Regions from separate parts of the Homo sapiens genome. Here all the other regions are linked to region 3. The links are contacts of gene promoters, found by promoter capture Hi-C in blood cells and fetal thymus (Javierre and others, 2016). All regions are on one chromosome and are shown on one strand. The core of a region is centred on a gene start or on the middle of the fragment in contact, and the rest is flanking DNA. Distances in the headings are between cores, read along the strand shown.

Region 1 (2,997 bases), core at 163-2,662, 400 kb before region 3:
GGGGAATTATCCCTGCTAACCTCTATTCTGGATCTGTGCTCACTGAGCAATGTTCTGACTGGGAACAGCGCAGGTCAGGAGAGAGGATATGATAAAAGGTACGGAGAAAACTGACATTCTGGGTCTAAATGATTTCATCTGAGTTTGTACTATATCAGCAGCTTTCTCCACACTGGAAAGCCCAAGGGATGAAATACTGGAGTCAGGTGATGCACCCAAGAAAAGTGAGCCACGGCACCCAAAGAGCGCCTCTGACTTACAGGGCGAGGCCTGGCCAAGAAACCTGATACCTGCCCTCCCCCCCCCATGCACCTCAAGAGAAGACTGCAGAGGGGAGAGGGGAGAGCTGGCCTGAGGGTGGCACGGTCATGCTGAGTTCTGACCCGGAATAGGAAAGCCCAAATACACCACCTGAGCCTAAAAAAACCTACATCCTCCTGTCCCTAAATAATGGATGTGTCGTTTTCTAACAAAGCTAGGGAAGGTAGGAGAAGGTAAAGCTGCAACACAAAACAGAAAGCCACTACTCAGGGAAGACTGCCACCGTGCCACGGCAAGTCTGCCCAGGGTGGGTCATGATGCCCTGCCTTCATTCCTTCATTCCCCTATGCTTGTGAGTTTCTTCTATGTGCTAGCCACTGCAGAGACTGCGGAATGTGAAAGGCACAGTTCCTATCCATGAGCAAGATGCAATCCAGCAGATAAACAGAAAGCTATTTATTTCTATACCACAAAAATAATCACCTCCACACAGAGGAATATGCAAACTGCACTGAACGTAATGCCACTGATTTTCTGATAAACCATTACTCTATGTGTCACTAAGAAAGAAAAAAAAAATGCTGCCAATTAAATTTTGGCAAGTCACTGACTGTGCTGATTTCAGAGGTGTTCCAGCCAAGGAAAGGTGTCTATCACAATCAATGGAATGAAGAGAAACAGGGAAGCATCACCTATGAGGCAGCCATTGGGCCAGCATGGACAGAGGGCAGGTGCTGCGGGCAGAGCATGCCACAGATGATGGCCTCTCAGGCCTGGAGGGGAGGGGACCCACAAGAAGGGTGAAAAGGGCTCTGTGTGTGTGCTGGTGTCTCACTGTTCCAGTGGTGAGGAGACAGACGGTCAGGCAGGGAGGGGCCTAAGAGAAGCTCCACTTGCAGACAGGTGGAAGAAAGGTTTGAGAGAGGACATGATGGAGGCAGGAGACTGGGAAGGGGCTCGCCACAGACTGGGTGAGGAAGGAGGAAACGAGAGTCCAGGCAGGAAGGGGAGGATGGGAGAAATTCAGGGCATATAGGTGCAGCTTAGACACTGACTACAGGACTCTGGGGGTGCCCATTAAGACCCAGACAAGCAATGGGTTTATTCTTAAAAACTAGGTTATGAGGCCGGGCGTGGTCGCTCACACCTGTAATCCCAGCACTTTGGAGGGCCGAGGCGGGTGGGATCACGAGGTCAGGAGATCGAGACCATCCTGGCTAACATGGTGAAACCCCATCTCTACTAAAAATACAAAAAATTAGCCAGGTGTGGGGGCAGGCACCTGTAGTCCCAGCTACTCGGGAGGCTGAGGCAGGAGAATGGTGTGAACCCGGGAGGCAGAGCATGCAGTGAGCCGAGATCGTGCCACTGCACTCCAGCCTGGGCGACAGAGCGTCTCAAAAAAATAAATAAATAAATAAAAAATTAGGTGACAAGGGAGAGGAAGCTGGCAGGAGAGGAAAGACGCTGACTTCTGATTTGGACATGCCAACCCCAAGGAGCATGTACGATTTCCAGACTGGCTGTCTACCAGGCGGCAGAAAACATCTCTGGAACACATGCTTACACTGGCAGGACGGGGTGGCTCCTCTTGCCAGGGGTCCTGGAAGAGGCTGGCTCAAGAGATCCCCAGTGAGGATCCCAAAGTACCTGTTACATCACAAGTCAATGAGCAGACATTGCTGAGGGCTCGCTGTGTGCCTGGGACTCACCCTACTGCTTCAGGAGAGCAATCTTCTAAGGAGACAGGTGTGTCCATTGTCAATTTATAGGAAGTTATGACCCAAGAGATTATGTGACTATAAATCCCACTAATGGAAGACAAAGGCCTAACGCAGAGCTGGGTCCTAGAGCCTTGCCTAACTGGAGGCCAGAGGCTGGTTCCCTGCCACTGGGGTGGCCACAGGTTGGCAAGGGCATGGGCAGCCCAGCACGCACAAATGGACCTGTCTGCACACTCAACTACTCATGGCTTTTGAGTACCCACCCTCCTCCACACACCCCAAACTAGAGGGAAAGACAGGTGAGGTAGTAGTTTTTGCAATTCTTTTATTGAAATGGTCTGTCACAAGTAACTTAGGGCTAGACTAGAGCAAAGGTCCTCAAACCAAGTATTCAAAGAGACCTTCAAATGGGCTGAGGTGTGATGCAGGAACCACCTTCCTCCCTCACAACTTCACAAAGAAAGGCAGGCACACCTGAGCTGAGGCCTGCACTGACCTGGTGTGAAAACCTCCAGGGGCACCAGATGGAAAGACAAGCAGCCACTGGGGTTGTGGTAACCACCTTCAATCCAGGTTCATGTGTCTTTCATCTCCTGCCAGCCTCCTGTGGCACAACCTGGAGGCTTCTTTGTCCTATGGACTTTCCCTGGAGGGGTGCTGGAAAGACTTCCGGCTCTGGGTTTACAGATATCACAGTGAGGATGGTTTCCAACAGGACCTGCCTCTTCAGGCGTTAGACCCCCAAGCAAAGCTCGGGGAGCAGCGAGGGCAGCAGTGCAGGAGGACACAGGGAAGGGCGGGAAGGTGCAGTGGACCGCAGACTGCTGCCTAGGTGTGCACTCCCCTGCGCCTGTCTGGCCATTTATGATCAGAAGCACAAAGGCAGCCATGGGCATGCACATTAACATGTTATGTGAATTGCAAAAATAAAATCAGACTTTTTCTCACAGAAGGTAAGACTGATTCTAAGAAACAGGTGTGATAGGCAAAAATACAAATAAAGAAATACATA
Region 2 (2,700 bases), core at 129-2,628, 380 kb before region 3:
CTGGCTTGAAATTGATGTTTAAAAGTTTGGTGTTGCATACTCCTGACTTAGAGTCTCCTACCTCCTAAAAGAATGGCAAGATAATCCATAAATTAACCTGAGGAAGTAATGCTTTAGAGGAAAAGGCAGTTTTAAGGAATGTCATGGAATCCCCTGAGCTGACTTCAATCTAATATTTAGGAAGCAGAGTCTTAGCCTATTTTTTGTTTATGATGTTGATACCTATTAAGACACACAGCTGAATTAAAATATTCAAAGAATGGTTATTCTAAGGGCCTCCTGCCAGACTCTGAGGTGACAACTGAGTGTTCGGTCACACTGCTTTCAGTCCATGTGTCAGCTGAGCACAAAGTAAAATACAATGCCTTTATTCAAAACTAAAGATAAATCAAACGGCATGTGGCACAGTTTAATTCGGCAGTATTCTCTTATACTGGTCAACCTCATTTTCTTCAGTCTTTTCCACAGATGTCACAGTAACAGTGATCCACAATTGCTCATCTTGGCTTTTAAACCAGCACCAAGTTTACCTTCCAGTGTTATAAAGGATCCAGGTAATAAGATAGTGGCTAAGAAAAGCAGCCATCATAAGCTATCATTAATGGTCTGAAAAACTAGTAAAAAGTAAAGCAGAAAAGCACAGTAAGACCTAAACAGCACTGGATGGAGAGGAGGCGCCAAAGCAAGCCTGTAAAGTCAAACTATCCCCTCCCCCTCGCAAGCCCCTCGCATCCCCCTTTCTCTGCACTGCCACGCCCCAAACTGATAATCACTCCAATAAATCATCTCCACAAGATGGGCTGTCCACTTAGGTCTAGACAGTGTCAGTGAGCAGAGCCCAAAGGAATCAAGGGTTCTGTGATTCCTTGATAGGTTCTGGAACTTCAAGATGCACAGAAAGTGAGTTTCAACTGGGAGGCCAACTGTGGTACAGCCCCACAGTTACCCTCCGAAGACATCACTAGTTCTATTTCCTGTCTTTTGAGCAATATTTGATATGGTTAAAATCTCAAACCCCTAATTTCAATTTTAGGTAGTCACATTTCCAAATCTGGCTATGATGTGGGAGGCAATTATGAAATCAACAAAGCCTGTTAATTTTAAATCAGATTGTTTCTTTTGTTGCTATTATTGTCCCTGCCACTGCCTCACAATCAGTGATTATCTCCATTTGTTAGTGTCAACAGGATGAAATCAGGAGCTGACCAGGCTGGTTTGCTCCAGGAGGCTGTCACCAGGGAAGCCTGAGCCCAGCAGCCCACATCAGCATTCCCACGAGAACAACAGCTCCTGCTGTGGCTGCCGCAGCCAAGTGCTGCTACTGCAGTTCTGGTTAATCCCACCTAAAGCCATCTTTTCTACTCCCACTGACTTCAAGTTTATTTTCTGGACTATCATAACACACTTATATTTAGTTGTTTCCTATTTTCACTCTCTTTCAGCCACTGGTGCCCCTGCAGGTGATCTCCGTGTATGTCTTTGCAAGTGTGTGTCTCTGTGTCCACACGTCTACATGTGTGGGCCTCCAGGGCAGTCTCTCCGCAAGTGGGTTGCTAACTGAATGGATGTGTCTCTGTGTGCAGCTCTCTGTGCACACACATCCAGCCCTCAGTCATCTGCTCTGTTTGTCTGTCTGTCCCTCCATCTCCCTGTCCATCTCTGCATCTCCCCGTTTGCCTCTCCTTCCCTCTGTCGGTCTCTCCACCTGCCTGTCCGTCTTTCCATCGCCCTGTCTGTCTCTCCATCTCCCTGTCTGTCTCTCCAACTCCCTGTCTCTCCATTGCCCTATCTCTGTTTCCCTCTCTGTCTCTCCATCTCCCTGTCTGTCTCTCCACTGCCTTGTCTCCCCATCGCCCTATCTTTCTCTCTCCATCTCCCTGTCTCTCCATCTCTCTGTCTCTCCATTGCCCTATCTCATCTGTCTCTCCATCTCCCTGTCTGTCTCTCCACTGCCCTATCTCCCTGTCTGTCTCTCCATCTCCCTGTCTGTCTCTCCACTGCCCTATCTCCCTGTCTGTCTCTCCATCTCCCTGTCTGTCTCTCCATTGCCCTATCTCCCTGTCTGTCTCTCCACCTCCCTGTCTGTCTCTCCATTGCCCTATCTATCTCCCTGTCTCTCCATCTTCCTGTCTGTCTCTCCATCGCCCTGTCTCTCCATCTCCCTATCTCTCCATCTCCATATCTGTCTCTCCAGTGCCCTATCTCCCTGTCTGTCTCTCCATCTTCCTGTCTCCCCATTTCCCTGTCTCTCCATCTCCCTATCTGTCTCTCCAGTGCCCTATCTCCCTGTCTTCTCCCTGTCTCTCCATCTCCCGTCTGACTCTCCATTGCCCTGTCTGACTCTCCATCTCCCCCTGTCTATCTGTCTCTCCACTGCCCTGTCTGTCTGTCTCTCCATCTCCCTGTCTGTCCATCTCTCCATCTCCCGTTCTGCCTCTCCATCTTCCTCTTTCCAACCCATCTCTCAGTCTCTCTTCTCCTCCTTCTCTTTTCCTAGCTATAACTGTTTCCGTTTTCCCTTCTTCCCTCCCCAGTTCCTCTCTGCTGTCCTATTTCTAATTTTCTATCTTAATGTATCTAATATTCTATCTTAAGATTAATCAAGGAGATAAAGATGCTAATGTTAAGACTAAAGACAGATTATTCTGCCAATACACAGACCAGATAACCTAAAAGCTCTCATGCTACATGCACTTTGTA
Region 3 (2,804 bases), core at 33-2,532:
GACCAGACATATTGCATTGTTAACAAACTAGTTGTTAACCTTATGACCTCTGTAAAGGTCTCAGGGATTTCCAGAGGTCTGGGGACCACACTTTGAGAATCACTAGATTAAAAGGGGGAAAACATGGGAGGAAAAAAAGGTCACATAATGGAAACATACTGTTGGATTGAATTTCGTATATAAAAACCCTTTACTGAAATAAAGAGTAGAGACTTCAAGTACCAAGAGAAGCAGATTAGAAGAGGAGGAAGGCTCTAGGGACTGATCAGGTCTGGAGGCAGGGTTTTAAATGGGCCTTGAAGGGTTCGTGCAGTTTGGAAGGAAGGGATGGGAGGGAAAAGCTTGCTGAATCGTATAAATGAACAAGACCCTGATGGTGAGCTCTTGAGGATATGAAAGGCAAAAAGCACTAAGGCCGGGCTTTTGTTCCTCTGTGGCCCTGCATATATGAGGAGGTGATGAGTAATTCTATATTTTTATCAGCTTTACCGTTTAAAACTCCAAGGGAGGAAAACCCTTCAAACTGATAGGCTTGGGGCTTGGTGAAGGTGGGGTATTAGTGAAAAAGATGTGAAGTTTCTTTATCGAAAATACATGTATGTCCAAGAAATTCTCTGTAGATAAAAACTAACAAGAAAAAGAGTTTGTCAGAGAGGAAAAGTAGTTTTGCTAATTTATTTTTGATCATTTGCAAAGCCCATGGAAGTGTGTGGCAAGAGGATTGTGGTGTCTTAGGATATTCACATAGGTCTGAAACAAGGAAAACATACTTCTGTTGAAAGCACCATTCCAACATATTGTTATTAGCAGTCCCTGAACTAACGGGTAGTGGGTGGGTACTGTGTCCATCAGCTCAGCGAACCGCAATTGCCTCATTGACAGCAAGCCCAGCAAGGAATCACTTGGAATATTAATTTCCGTGGCCTTTCGCAATCACACGAAGCTTGGCTCCCTGCGCTTGCCGTAACGCGGCCTGTACCATTGCTTTCCGGGTGGCGGGGGGGATTTGGCAGCAGCGGAAGAAGGAGACCGGAGGGTGTGTGTTGGGCAAAGCCGGAGGCAGAGGAGGACGATTGTTTTACGGATCCCGTGATCGGCCCGTCCTTCTCCCCTTTCCCCCCCTCCCTACCGCCCCTGTCCCGCCGGGGAGCGGCGGCGGCCTTGGACTTTGCTGTCTTTCCTCGCGGAGACAGGTGAGTGTCGGCGCGCGGGCTCCCCGGGCTTCGCTCCCCACCCCCCGCGTCTCCGGGGCCGGTGGCGGCGGCCGGCCGGGGAGGCGGCCTCGGCGCACAGTAATGGCAGCGCTGTGAGCAGGGGAACGCGAGCTGACAGCCGCCGCCGCCGCCGCCTCCGCCCACCTTCCTCGCCGGGGCTTCGTCTTTCACTCCTTCGGGCTGCCTCCCCCTCCCCTTGTCCCCTGCCCCTTGCCCTGCTTCTGCAGAAGGTAACCCCGCTGAGGGTCGGGGAGCCGGGCTGCAGGCGCCGGGAAACTTCCCTTCCCGGTTAATGGGTGGCGGGGCTGGGGCGGAGGAGAGGAGTTGGGGGCGACGAGGTGTGGGGAGAGGGATGAAAGGGGGAGGCCCGGGAAGATGGTATCCTGTAAGTGACCTCGGCTCCCCAGAGCGCTGACCCGTAAGCCCTGCCACCCCCTGGACTGGATCCCGGGCCTCCCCAACCCGATCTTGGCCGCCTCTCCCGCGGCCCCATTTTCCTTCGAAGGAGGGAAGGTGAGAGTGCGTGTATTCTTCTACATATTTACGTGCTCACACGAATACACAACTCTGTGTGTTTGTGTGTGTGTGTGGGGGGGGGCATCTCATGCATCCTTACCCCGAGTGTTTTCACTTTTGTTTCCGCAGACTGCAAAGATTGATAGCTTTGGGGAGGAGTATCCTACGTGCATGCTAGACTTCTTGTCTCAACCCTTAGGGTCTGGTGAAATAAGATCCTCACACGCTTTCTAGCACTTGCTTACCCTCTAGAGAGTCTGGACCATTCCCTACCATTACGTGCATGCAAATAAAACATCTGTGAATTGCAGACTGTTATTAATGTTAAGTCCACATCTTTGCCCCATGGATTAATATTAACAGTTGAAGGCCAGTACCCTGGGCGTTTAAATTTTGAAGATAAGATGCAAAATATTAACGTTCGCTATAGATTGTGACTGTTCAACATAAACGTCTTTGAACTAGACCTGGCCAAGCCTACCTTCGTAGTAAAGTATCGGAAATAATCACTTTGATCTGATTGACAACTGACTACATAATAATCGCTTAAAAACATTCAAAACACTGTTGCCTACCCTTTAGAATCTTACATTCCTTTTCAAGACAGACACATGAACAAATGAGCTATACTTTGCTTCTTTTGCCCTTATACAGTATCTGGAAGATCCTTCCAAAAGAGTCGCGTGAGATAAGAGAAGTACACAGTTTTTTTGTTTTGAGATGGAGTTTTGCTCTTGTCACCCAGGCTGGAGTGCAGTGGTGCGATCTCGGCTCACTGCAACCTCCGCCTCCCGGGTTCAAGCAATTCTTCTGCCTTAGCCTTCCATGTAGCTGGGATTACTGGCATGCGCCACCATGCCCGGCTAATTTTGTATTTTTAGTGGAGATGGGGTTTCACCATGTTGGCCAGGCTGGTCTTGAACTCCTGACCTCAGGTGATTCGCCTGCTTAGGCCTCCCAAAGTGCTGGGATTACAGGCCTGAGCTACTGCGCCCAGCCCACAGTGTTTTGAATTACTTGTTTTTTTCAATTGCTGTTTATGAGTTGGGGGAACATTTCTACAATGTGCATGCA
Region 4 (2,700 bases), core at 125-2,624, 350 kb before region 3:
ACTTCTTAGAACATACCACCTTCATTAAGTGACACGACTGTATATGAAATAAAGGGAGAAAATAACACAAACCACATCAATAGCCCGTCCCGTAGCCATCCCCAGTAGTTTCTTTATTCATACTCCCAAATTCATTACTCATACTCTATATGTTCCAAACATGAAAATGTCTTCTACTCACCAAATACATCATGCTGTTTCATATCTCAGTATTTCAAACAGTTTTCCCTTAACTAAAAAGTTCTCATCCTACAAGCAAACTCCTACTTGTTTTTAAAAACTATTTTCAAATATCAAGTCTTGCAGGTAGACCACCCTAAACTCCCAACAAAGTACCTCCTATCCAGGCAATTTGTATGAGTCTCCGGTCTCATTATTTCACTACCTTTCAATTATAAAGCCATCTCTCCCACCACACTATGAGCCTGATGCACAGCAGATGGCTAATAAACTGTGAGTTAATTTTATGTCCTTTTAATGACTCACATTGCTTCTGCTTCAAAGTTCTAAGCTTAGCATTCAAGGTTACCTAATTTTCCCTTATTTAGTTCTATTTCTCCAACCACCACCATAAGCCCTTGGAGGGCAACCAGCACTGCCTCAGAGATCTGCATCACTCCAACGCAAACAGGGCCCTACACATCAGGAGTTATGGCAACACTCTGTGGGTCATGCAGGCTAAGTGACATTTCTAGCCAGCCCATGTGTTATACCCAGGTACACTTTCACTATTGCTTTACTAGGACTTTTAAGCTATTATTTAAAATGCAACAATGAATCTAAGTTCTTTCAAATTATGTCATCGTTTTAACTAAAACTATAAATGGGAACTTTTCCTTTCATACAGACTTTACAACAATGGGTATTCTCTTAAGTATGATCATTTTAAATCATACAGCCAAATTTGTTTTCCAGAGAAACACATTTTTATTTTACAATTAATACGTAATTAACTTCATTTAATGAAATGAACTTTATTAAAGACATCTACACCTTAAAATAAGATACACCAGCATGAACTCTTATCAAGTTTATGCTAATAACCTACTGCTTTTTCTTTTCTATTTTCATACAGGGCCTCACTCTGTCACCCAGGCTGGAGTGCAGTGGCACAATCTCAGCTCATGCAACCTCCGTCTTCTGGGCTCAAGCAATCCTCCCACCTCAGCTTCCCAAGTAGCTAGGACTACAGGCACACACCACCATCCCTGGCTATTTCCTTTTTTATTTTTAGTTGAGATGAGGTTTCGCCCATGTTGCCCAGGCCAGTCTCGAACTCCTGAGCTCAAGTGATCCTCCCGCCTCGGCCTCGCAGCCACTGCGCCCAGCCTCCTACCGCTTTTTCCATTGAAAAGCCCAATTGCTAAGCTAAAGCATAGTAATAATAGGGCCCTAAAATTAAGAAAACAAGAAACGTACACAATGCAGATACATAGGAAACTCTGTACCACTCTCTAAGGCCACAAACACTTAACATCAGGGAAAGCTCTTATTCATCTTGTCTCTGTTCCTTCCAAAATGAAAGTCATTTCAAAGAAGACTGCTTCTGCTTCTTTGCTAACAACAGTTTAAAGGCCAACTTGTTCTTGGCTTACAATGGTTCCATTCTGCAACATGGTAAAACAAGGCGGTATTCAGAAGAGGCCAAAACACCTGTCAGTGCTACAGACTCTCCCTGACCCTCATACCACATGGGGCCCCATTCTAGCTCCTTATGGGACTCTTCCTTTCCATTTCAGGCAAATGGAGTCTTATAAGTGGTGCTAACAATATAGAATCACTTCTGAATTGGCAATTGTATACTCTCTCTTCTAGAGAAAAACCCAAAGCAATATAATGGAAATAAGAGCACCCATCCTTAACTTCCCAGGTACACTTGTTAAAACAAAATGATGTGTGAAAAGAGATGTCTTAAAATAGCAATGACACGTGAAAATCTAGACTTCTTTCAGCTCAGTTTATGAGTTAAGACTACCTCTCTTGTAGCATAATTAACAAATGTATGTAATGCTTCTCAGAAGTAAAGATAAGCAGGGACTGGAGTCCCACGTGTGCAATTACACTTCATTCTACTTTGGAAACTGCTCTAGGCTCCGTCCTTTCTGCTGCCCAGAATCACTCTTTCTAGGAGCTGATTCTGAAGTTCTCTCCCACAGGTGATCACCACCACAAAGCTGTGCCCCGGACAGGGGTCTAAAACAGCAGAATACGCTGCAGTGAAGAAAACTTGAAGCTTATTCTGAAGACATCTAGCAAAGAGTCAGCACTAGGAGGGGTGGGAAGCAAGGGTCTGGAGGAGGGTAGGCAGATCCAGGCCAGGCTGTTTTCATAAGCAAAGCTGAAATGGAGCAGCCAGGCCTGTTCTCTTACATCTCATCTACGCTTGCCTCTGAGGTTCAACAGCAGAGTTGAGCAGTTCAGAGACCACTTGGCCCTTTCCAGAGAACCTCTGCTAACCTCTGCTCCAGAGTGGCCAGGGACACAAGGACATGAGAAACAGCACAGGGGTGAGTTCCCTGAGTTTCCTTTCTGCCTCACTTATCTCAGATAAAAGCTGAAGAAGGAGACAATCTGCAAACATGAAGGGTACAGACCAAAGAACACCTGCTCTCTCTGTCCAAAGAACAGAAAGGAGCCTGTCTAGCAAGACAGAACATTTTTAGATAATAACCACTCTACTCCACAGGCGCCAAAAACGAC
Region 5 (2,700 bases), core at 36-2,535, 330 kb before region 3:
TAATGTTTTATTGACGACTGTAGGTTTTAAATTTAAATTTTAAAAAAATTTTAAAAGAATAGAAAGGTGTAAAATTAGATGGAAAAATGAGTCAAAAATATTTATAGAATACAAAATAAGTCAAAAAAATGTTTTAAAAAGAATATAGAATAGCATTTAAGAGTGCAGGCTCAGGAGCCAGCTTTTCTGACTTCAACCCTGACTCCTCCACTTGGCACCCTGATGACTGTGGGGCAGTGACTTTCTCTGTGCTTCAGTTTCCCCTCTGCAAAATGGAGATGAGTATCCACCTAAGATTGTTACGGAGACTGAATTAAAATTCACCCAACACTGAGAACCATATCTGGCCCACAGAAATTACTGTATTTATATTTACTGTCAAGAGAAACCTCTGAAGAGAAAGCAGAATGACTAGATTCAGATCTAACAGGCCTGGATATAAGAGCAAGGGCAGAAAACAGGAAAGTAAGTGAAAACAAGCAGGATGAGCTGTAGGGAACGGCATCCTGGAGGAAAACAAGTGACTCAGCTCAAGAAAATGGGAGTCCATCACAGACTCCAGTCAGCAGGGCCAGCTAGAAGAGCACCAGGCAACACGGACAAAAGCCAGAGAGGCATGAAACTGTCCCTGACAAAAGCCACCCGACGCTTCTAAATACCAAATGAAGGCAAAATAAAATTACTTGGTCTTAAATTGGAGGTGAGAAAATGAAGGCAGACCAGCAAGCTCTGTGTTCCCTGGGTCGGGGGTTCTAGAATAACAGAAACAGAGCACCTGCCCAGGACTGGAAGGCACTGATCCAGTGAACCCGCGTCAAGCTGACCATCAGGAGACTGGAGTTAGGATCCACATAGTTAGAGAGAGAGTGGTGCCAAGCACCCATGATAAACCGTGCCTCTGAACTTCCTGCAGCACAGAGACGGGAGCTCATGTGGAAGAGAAGGTAACAAAAGGGCCCTGAAACCAGGAATGAATTTAACAAAGAAATTCCCTCTCCTTTTACACTTGGCCTAGAAAGGTGATCCAGGAACAACACCTGAGTGGGCTTCTCCAGAAGCGGCCTGTCCAACCCGTGTGGCCGTCCTCAGCCAGGTCCTTTGAACCTCGTCCTACACCCAAAATCCCACCCCAAAGCAGAGCCGGCACTGGCATAGGTGCACACAGCCTGACTTCAAACAGGCCTATCCACTGGGCTGGCTGTGTGACTAACAAATAAATGTTAAGTACGCAAATTTACACTTGGCCATGACTTGCTCAAAATTGGCTTAAAATGCTGCAGGGTATGATTCTGAATCAGTAAACAACAATACATTTTTCACTTCAGTCAGCCAAACACAGAGTTCAAATAAGATTTTGAAATTAGAATTCAGACTCATTGCCATTTAGGCTGTGAATTAACAGTTAAAAATTAGTCTCCGTTCACATTCAGCTTAGGTTTGATGAGCAAAACTGCCAAAAGAAAGCATCTGTTTTTGCGGTTTGAAAACATATTTGCTTTAAAAAAGTTTACTTCATATTCAGTCCCTACTTTTTAGGTGAGAGTCTGATTTTGTTTTCCAGTGAGATTCTGGTGTGAGATTGCGACTTCCTCATGAATTGGTCATTGGGAACTGGGTAAGGTGATCCTAGATCCCACAGTGCACTCTCCAGAATCCCCATCAGGTGCTGAGTTGCTGAGTTGCACAAACATGTTCATCTCAAACTGAAGATATGCAGAAAGAGTAGTTGCAAAGTCACTGAAAAGCTACCTGTGCCAAATCAGAGACCCCAAAATATCACAGCAGCTTCACATTTTCATGAGAAACAAGAGGGCACAAGTGAGAGAGAGCCAGGAAAACCCAGGTGGGCCTGGTTTCTAGGGCTCGCTGCTTTTAGGGCCACTGGGGTCGGATCCCACTCCACCTCCACTGCTCACCAAAGCAAACAACATCAACTTTACCAAATATTCCTCTTGCTACAGAGCAAGACATGATTCATTCAGTATCACTATATCCTCCCACACACAAACAAAGGATGCACCATGATCCAGATTTCTTTAGGAAATTAGCAGCTTAATGAAAACTTCTTGAACTTATATACATGATGATTCTTCCACTATTTTATCTGTAAAAGATAGTCACAGGAAAAATCAGGCAAGCACAGACATAGGACCTAAATTAAGAACAATAGAAAATTAAGAACAGGAGTCAGCAAAACTTTTCATGTAGAGAAAAAACTAGATAAGAAAGAAACCATCTGCAGGACCAAAGGGCACCATTTATTTTGAACTGTACTAAAAAAAAAAAAAAAAAAAATTACAGCCATATCTATTTCTTCTTTTAATTATAAAGTTTGCCTAGAAATTAGTAATCTGTCAGCCTATTTCCTAATTTCAGCAGTCACAATGCTGTATGAATGACCTAAAAGTATCAAAACCTAAAGTATTATATACCACACACACACACATAAATGCACACATATATTTACGTAAACGTATATAAAGAGAGACATGAGATAAAGCAGTTAAAATCAATCTGTAGGACTAATTGAGTTGTATATCAAATGAGTTGATATGCAACTAAAATGAGCTGTATATCTAATGGGGTTTAGTTTTGAATTATCTCCAAATTAGCTATCCAATAACTTCCTCAGACCGATAACTTATCACCTTAAAAATCCTCCAGATTGCTAAAAAAAAAAAAAAAGGAACGGTCTAATGC
Region 6 (3,008 bases), core at 217-2,716, 320 kb after region 3:
CTTTTATTTTTTATTTGTTTTTGAGATGGAGTCTTGCTCTGTCACCCAGGCTGAAGTAGCTGGGATTACAGGGGGCCTTGCTAATTTTTTGTATTTTTAGTAGAGACGGGCTTTCACTATGTTGGCCAGGCTGGTCTCGAACTCCTGAGCTCAAGTGATCCACCCGCCTCAGCCTCCCAAAGTCCGGGGATTACAGGTGTGAGCCACCACGCCCAGTGAGCTTGGGTTTTCTGCTATAGAACTGACCAGGGCATTCTGGATTTGTGAGTGAAAGCAGGAACCCCTGGAGGGGTGCATCTTGCATTCTGCTTGTTGGGCGAGATGAATGTAGGCCACTCTACCTTCCAGACTGCAGAACTTCCTTGGTATTTACCTTTGTGAAAGGGATCCACAAATGACTTTTTACCCCTGCCAGGGGTTGATGGAAGTTGTTTCCAGGTGTGACCCATCTTCATTGGCTTATCCTGGCGAGCTGTTAGGAAAAAGTGTCATTTTAACTTGCTGTATTCCTCTGAAGCTCCAGAATACAAGATCTGAGCTCACTCTGTTGAAAAACTCCTTTGTTTCTACCTGAAAGCACAGGATGTTCATTTCTATCAGATCAGTTCTTTTCTGTATACCAGCCTGAACATGTGTGTGTCTTTGTCTAAGCACCTCTTGCTTCATAAGATACACCACCAAATTGAAAAGAGTTAGTGACAACTGTTCCTTGGCTGGCATCAAAACCAGACACCAAAGAAAAGCCAGCAAGTAATTTTGTAAGACTAGGTCGGGCTGACCGACGTCATTTTTCTTTCTCAGTTTTGTGTAACTTTTCTGTTTTAAAAAATTGTTTTGCATTAACACGCTGACAGAAATATGCTGCTAATGACATAGTCATGATCTTGATGATGGTGATAATAACTGTAGCCAGCCTTCCTTCACTCTTTGCTCCCCATGTGCCAGGCACTATGCTACACGTGGGACCCCTTTAATCTCACAGTGATCCTGTGTGGGGGGCATAGTTGTTGCTGTTACCTCAGATGAAGAGGGGAGGCTGAGCAATGTTGAGTCAAACCACAGGGACAGGCAGAGCCACGTTCTGAGCTGCACCGTCTTTCTTCCTGATGTAACCATTGTGCCCAGCACATTTAGCATCACCATTTGCTTTCAAAAGCCAGAACATTTTAATCAGAGGAATGCAAACTTTTAAAAGACATTATGAATTTACTTTTTGTGCAGTTTCCTGATGAAAATCACAGGGCTTGCATGTTTTCAAGTGACCAATTTTAATACTAGGTTGGTATTCTTCCTTCCCTCCTTCCTCTTGTCTCTCCGTCTTTCCCTTTTATGTCTTCCATCACAGGGAGTTCTGCATCTCCGTTGCAGAACAACCCTGTAGACTTTTAGGGTTTTGAGTTCCCAGAGGAGCATCTCAAAGCCTTTCCAAATCCAATGATGTCAGACCTTAAAGATCACGGGGCCCAGGGCTGGCAAATCCATGGCCTCACTTTGCTGCCCACCTTTCCGGGTCTGTCATGGAAACTGAGAACAGGGCACATCCCTGTCTGGAGTCTTGGAATCTCTACATCATTGCAGGTGATACCCCTAGGAAACTGGAACTTAAGATACAATTTATCTGCCTTTCCTAATTTACTCTGAAAGCAAAAGTTCTAGATTAGATTCCTGTGGTCCGTGGTGGGAGAGTCATCTGTCCAAGGCCACATACCTTGTAAGTGGCAGGTGAGTCTTGACTGCAAGGCTAGCGTTTTCTGCTCTGCCGGGACACCTTGATTTTCTCAGAATGCAGGTCCAGCGCAAGAGTTTCCTGCTCAGAAATGCCCATGGCTCCCTTTCACTTACAGTTCTTCCTGACCCTCAGGGCCTCTAGGATGAAAAGTCTGGGAGCAAGTTACTTCATCACATCCAGATAACCCTTTTATGTGCAGGGTGTTTGGTTGGAGGTGCTGCCCTCAAGGCGTTTACAGGCTAGCCGAGGGCTCGAGGTGTCATCTCCGTTTAAGAATGCTTAGAATACCAGGCAAAAAGTGATAGTTTTAATCAGCAGTAAGAAGTGCTTTTGCAGTTCAAAGGTGTGAGATGATCATGGATTGGCCATAACCAGGAAAGACTTTTGGGAGGAGATGGCATTGACTAGATCTTCATAGAAGGACAGATGTGTGGGCATGGTGACTGAAACAGCATGAAGGGTGACTTGTGTCTAAGGAGCAGGAAACATTTGGCTGGGTGATGTGGTCTGCAGGCAGAAGATAAGGCTAGGAAATGACTGTCCCGGAGGGTCTTGGATGAAGGGCCATCCGCTAATACTGAGGAAGTCATTGGGAGCCAGTGAAAATTTTTGAGCAGGGAAATTGGGGCTGTATTTTAACCAGATGGAGCTGGTTTGATGGTAAGGGTGTACTAGAGAAGGGGAACCCCACATTCTGAATTAATGTCACTTAGGAAAGGACCCCTTGTAAGTATGAAATGGTTATAATTGTGTGTGTGTGTGTATGAATTTGAGAAAAGTGTATAACTGAAGAACACTAGGTATGGTTTTCTTGTTTTTTTTTTTGTTTTGTTTTTTTGTTCGTTTGTTTGTTTGTTTGTTTTTTTAAAGACATGGTCTCTCTCTCCCTCTGTTGCCCAGGCTGGTGTGCAGTGGCATGATCACGGTCACTGAAGCCTTGACCTCCTGGGCTCAAGTGATCCTCCCACTTCAGCCTCCTGAGTAGCTGTGACTACAGGAACGTGCCACTATGTGCCAGGCTAATTTTTGTATTTTTTATGGAGACAGGTTTTTGCCGTGTTGCCCAAGCTGGTGTCGGACTCCTGGACTCAAGTGATCCACCTGCCTCAGCCTCCCAAAGTGCCGGGAGGTATGGTTTTAGACAAAGAAAAAAAAAATTACAGTAATGATTTTCACCTGGAGAGGATAAATGGGAGGAGGTGGGCTGAATTCAGGGCTGACTGTGTTTTTTGGCAGTGTCGATTTGGTGTTCAGTTTTCAGAGGCATTCCGTTAAGCCA
Region 7 (2,852 bases), core at 304-2,803, 310 kb before region 3:
CCCAAGCTAAGCCATCATATTCCCAGTGACCTGCACATATACATCCAGATGGCCTGAAGCAACTGAAGATCCACAAAAGAAGTGAAAATAGCCTTAACTGATGATATTCTACCACTGTGATTTGTTTCTGCCCTACTGATCAATGTACTTTGTAATCTCCCCAACCCTTAAGAAGGTTCTTGGTAATTCTCCCCGCCCTTGAGAATGTACTCTGTGAGATCCACCCCCTGCCCCCAAAACATTGCTCTTAACTCCATCGTCTATCCCAAAACCTATAAGAACTAATGATAATCCCACCACACTTTGCTGACTCAGCCCGCCTGCACCCAGGTGAAACAAACAGCCTTGTTGCTCACACAAAGCCTGTTTGGTGGTCTCTTCACACGCACACATGAGACAATTACTACTGCTAATTTTGAGCAAAAAAAAAAAAAATTCAGAGGGAGAAAGGAAGATGCCTTTGCTTGTACCTCCTAAGAAAAAAAAAAAAGAAAAGAAAATTTCTTTGGGAAATTTAGAATTGATCTCTCTCCTGGCAAAATAAATTTTTGTTATAGCTGTTTAAGAAGGAAACTGGCAGATAATCAGAACTGGACGGCAAAGTGTTTTGTGATCCTCCTGCAGATTCCAGGGTTTCAGTATCACCTCCAGCCATGCTGATTTAACCAGACAGACAGACAGCACTATCACAAAAGAGCACACCTGCAGCTTCCTTTCCTGGTAAGCAAATGGTCCTCTACGCAGTCCTCTGCACTCATCTCTGCCTCTCAGCTCCCTATTCTATTCTTATTAAACCTGAGAAGGAACTATCACAAGGGCAGGTAGAGTCCAACAATTCTAAGCACACAGAGCTCAGTATAAAATTCTACAAAAAATAGGAACTGCTGATGCTCGACAGAGCTGAAACTCAGCTGCCACCTGGGCCGGGGCCGGCCAGTTGCTGGGCCTCCACCCTAGGTGCTGCTGCACACCCTTCAGAGCACAGTTACTTCAGTAAAGTATTCCACAAAGTGTACATTTGAGAAAGTCTCTTCTCTTCTCTACCACCTTCTATTTCTCTCTCAAAAAAAAAGTGCGCATTAAGATAATAGTTCAATGCCATGGTGTGCCTACTATTAAAAAACACACAGTAGTCTGGGAAGTCATGCTAGAGTTTCCACAGCAACTGCACCATGGCTCAACTTGTAACAGCAACCATTCCATTCCAAAATGCTTTAAGAGACTCTAGAAAAGAGAGAGAGAAGTCAAGTTACAATCCCGGGGGAGGAGAAAACACGCCCTTGCTTTCATGTACTTGAATTCTCCCCATCAAAAATACTGTTTAAGTACATATTGCACCATTAATAAATATTCCTGCCCCTAATTATCTAACGAACAGTAGATAACTCTGGAAACAGCTACTGATAATTCTTTTAGTTGGGAGGTTAGAGAAGAGGTTGGTCGGAAAAAATTACTAATATTTTAAAACAGAAATATGCTTTCTCAACAAAGCATATTCTTAACTAAGCATAAAAGGTTACTTCGGGTAATCCAATCAAGTCAGCAATTACAAGGCTCCATTCCACGACGTGAAGCATCTTCTCTCCCTCTTTGAACCAGCTAATTCAAAGAGACCAACCTAAATGCCCCAGGAATTCATTCCCAAGGTGAGGGGAGGGGGAAAACAGGGAGGGATCTGTGCAGCTTCCTCTCCAAGAGGGGAAACAACCCCACCCCACCACCCCCGCCGCCCCCTGCACTGTGCTAGGGAGATTCTAAACAGAATGCCTTTCATCAAACCACTAGAAGCCGTTTTTAGTATTTTACAAAATCCAAAAGAATTCTTCTATAAAACTGCCTACATCAAATAGATGGTGCTGGAAGAAAATCCAAATATACAGAACAGCTATCCACAGGGCTAAAATCAGGCAAGGGAGATCTGCGATGGGAAGCAGGCAGGTGTCAGAAGGGACCCATTGCATGTCCCTTCTCTGAGACTCCAGCTCCACATATTTTCTGAGTCCCCATGTAAACTGGAGAACATACCTAGCCTTCCATGTCAACAGAACTTTATCTCTACTAGCCATGTATCTTATTCCAAAAACAAAAACACCAGTTTGGAGGTCAATCCTGTGTTCAGCCAGAACATCTCCAATCTACAGGAAGAAGTCTTCTCAGGGTTTGCTACATAACAGTCAGAATTTTCTCCCCCGCATGGCACTGAAGGGAGCATATTACTGGGATCTGCTAAGGGGGAGTCCAGTTATGTATCTCCCTATCAGTACTCCGCACATAAAAGATCTACTGCAGAAGAGAGATAACCCCTTATCTTTTATGTTTATTTTTGTAGAGACAGACTCTCGTTATGTTGCCCAGGCTGGTCTTGAACTCCTGGCATGAAGCAAACCCCCTACCTTGGCCTCCCAAGTGTTGGGATTAACAGCGTGAAACACCACACCCATCCTGCTCCTTTTCAATTGAGGAAGCAGAATAGCCTGTGCCTCCCTTCACACCTTGAATTAAACAGCGTTGTGTCCTGTGTCGGCCACCTGGCAGGCAGGCTGGTCTGTAAGTCATGTCACCTTCTCACCACTTCACACACTAGTACCCAAATTCTGTGGTGGAGTAAAAAGACTTCCAGAAAAGTGGAGTAGACACCCAAGACACCAGTCCCCGAGAAGTAACCTCAAACATGGATAAGCATCCTGGGCAGTCAAGCCAAGAGTTAGCAGCCAGACATGCAGTCCACAGCCTCCACGGCCCAGCAGGGAGCTACGACCTCACCATGCTCAACAGGAACATCCAAAATGCCACCCTCACTTTCAAAGTGCCCTTAGTTGTCTTACCGTCAAGCACACATGGTTAAAAAGCAG

Evidence for each region. Contacts are between HindIII fragments. The CHiCAGO score rates a contact against its expected background, and 5 or more counts as called.
Region 1: a contact is called between a fragment that was not itself captured here and the fragment with the promoter of CUL2 in region 3, in 10 of 17 cell types (neutrophils, total CD8 T cells, total CD4 T cells and 7 more). The highest score is 19.9, in neutrophils.
Region 2: a contact is called between a fragment that was not itself captured here and the fragment with the promoter of CUL2 in region 3, in 1 of 17 cell types (neutrophils). The highest score is 5.1, in neutrophils.
Region 4: a contact is called between a fragment that was not itself captured here and the fragment with the promoter of CUL2 in region 3, in 9 of 17 cell types (activated CD4 T cells, total CD4 T cells, naive CD8 T cells and 6 more). The highest score is 14.3, in activated CD4 T cells.
Region 5: a contact is called between a fragment that was not itself captured here and the fragment with the promoter of CUL2 in region 3, in 4 of 17 cell types (activated CD4 T cells, total CD4 T cells, naive CD4 T cells and 1 more). The highest score is 10.3, in activated CD4 T cells.
Region 6: a contact is called between a fragment that was not itself captured here and the fragment with the promoter of CUL2 in region 3, in 1 of 17 cell types (fetal thymus). The highest score is 5.8, in fetal thymus.
Region 7: a contact is called between a fragment that was not itself captured here and the fragment with the promoter of CUL2 in region 3, in 3 of 17 cell types (activated CD4 T cells, neutrophils and total CD8 T cells). The highest score is 6.8, in activated CD4 T cells.

Annotation. Positions count from the first base shown.
Region 1 is chr10:35,490,303-35,493,299 of GRCh38, reverse strand. All of the region lies in intron 2 of CCNY (cyclin Y), which reads right to left. Among named protein-coding and RNA genes, the nearest start is that of GJD4, 110 kb to the left of the region's middle. The HindIII fragment of the contact is 6,610 bases long and covers 1-2,997 here.
Region 2 is chr10:35,469,282-35,471,981 of GRCh38, reverse strand. All of the region lies in intron 1 of CCNY (cyclin Y), which reads right to left. Among named protein-coding and RNA genes, the nearest start is that of CCNY, 130 kb to the right of the region's middle. The HindIII fragment of the contact is 9,869 bases long and covers 1-2,700 here.
Region 3 is chr10:35,088,819-35,091,622 of GRCh38, reverse strand. CUL2 (cullin 2) reads left to right here and starts at 1,282. Exons shown (of 21, transcript NM_003591.4): 1 at 1,282-1,444. RefSeq lists an enhancer at 862-1,001 and silencers at 920-1,108, 1,162-1,361, 1,382-1,511. The HindIII fragment of the contact is 6,346 bases long and covers 946-2,804 here.
Region 4 is chr10:35,440,115-35,442,814 of GRCh38, reverse strand. The region is part of intron 1 of CCNY (cyclin Y); the gene reads right to left. Among named protein-coding and RNA genes, the nearest start is that of CCNY, 100 kb to the right of the region's middle. The HindIII fragment of the contact is 1,722 bases long and covers 514-2,235 here.
Region 5 is chr10:35,419,519-35,422,218 of GRCh38, reverse strand. All of the region lies in intron 1 of CCNY (cyclin Y), which reads right to left. Among named protein-coding and RNA genes, the nearest start is that of CCNY, 84 kb to the right of the region's middle. The HindIII fragment of the contact is 5,790 bases long and covers 1-2,700 here.
Region 6 is chr10:34,769,351-34,772,358 of GRCh38, reverse strand. The region is part of intron 1 of PARD3 (par-3 family cell polarity regulator); the gene reads left to right. Among named protein-coding and RNA genes, the nearest start is that of PARD3, 44 kb to the left of the region's middle. The HindIII fragment of the contact is 3,192 bases long and covers 1-3,008 here.
Region 7 is chr10:35,399,152-35,402,003 of GRCh38, reverse strand. All of the region lies in intron 1 of CCNY (cyclin Y), which reads right to left. Among named protein-coding and RNA genes, the nearest start is that of CCNY, 64 kb to the right of the region's middle. The HindIII fragment of the contact is 8,358 bases long and covers 1-2,852 here.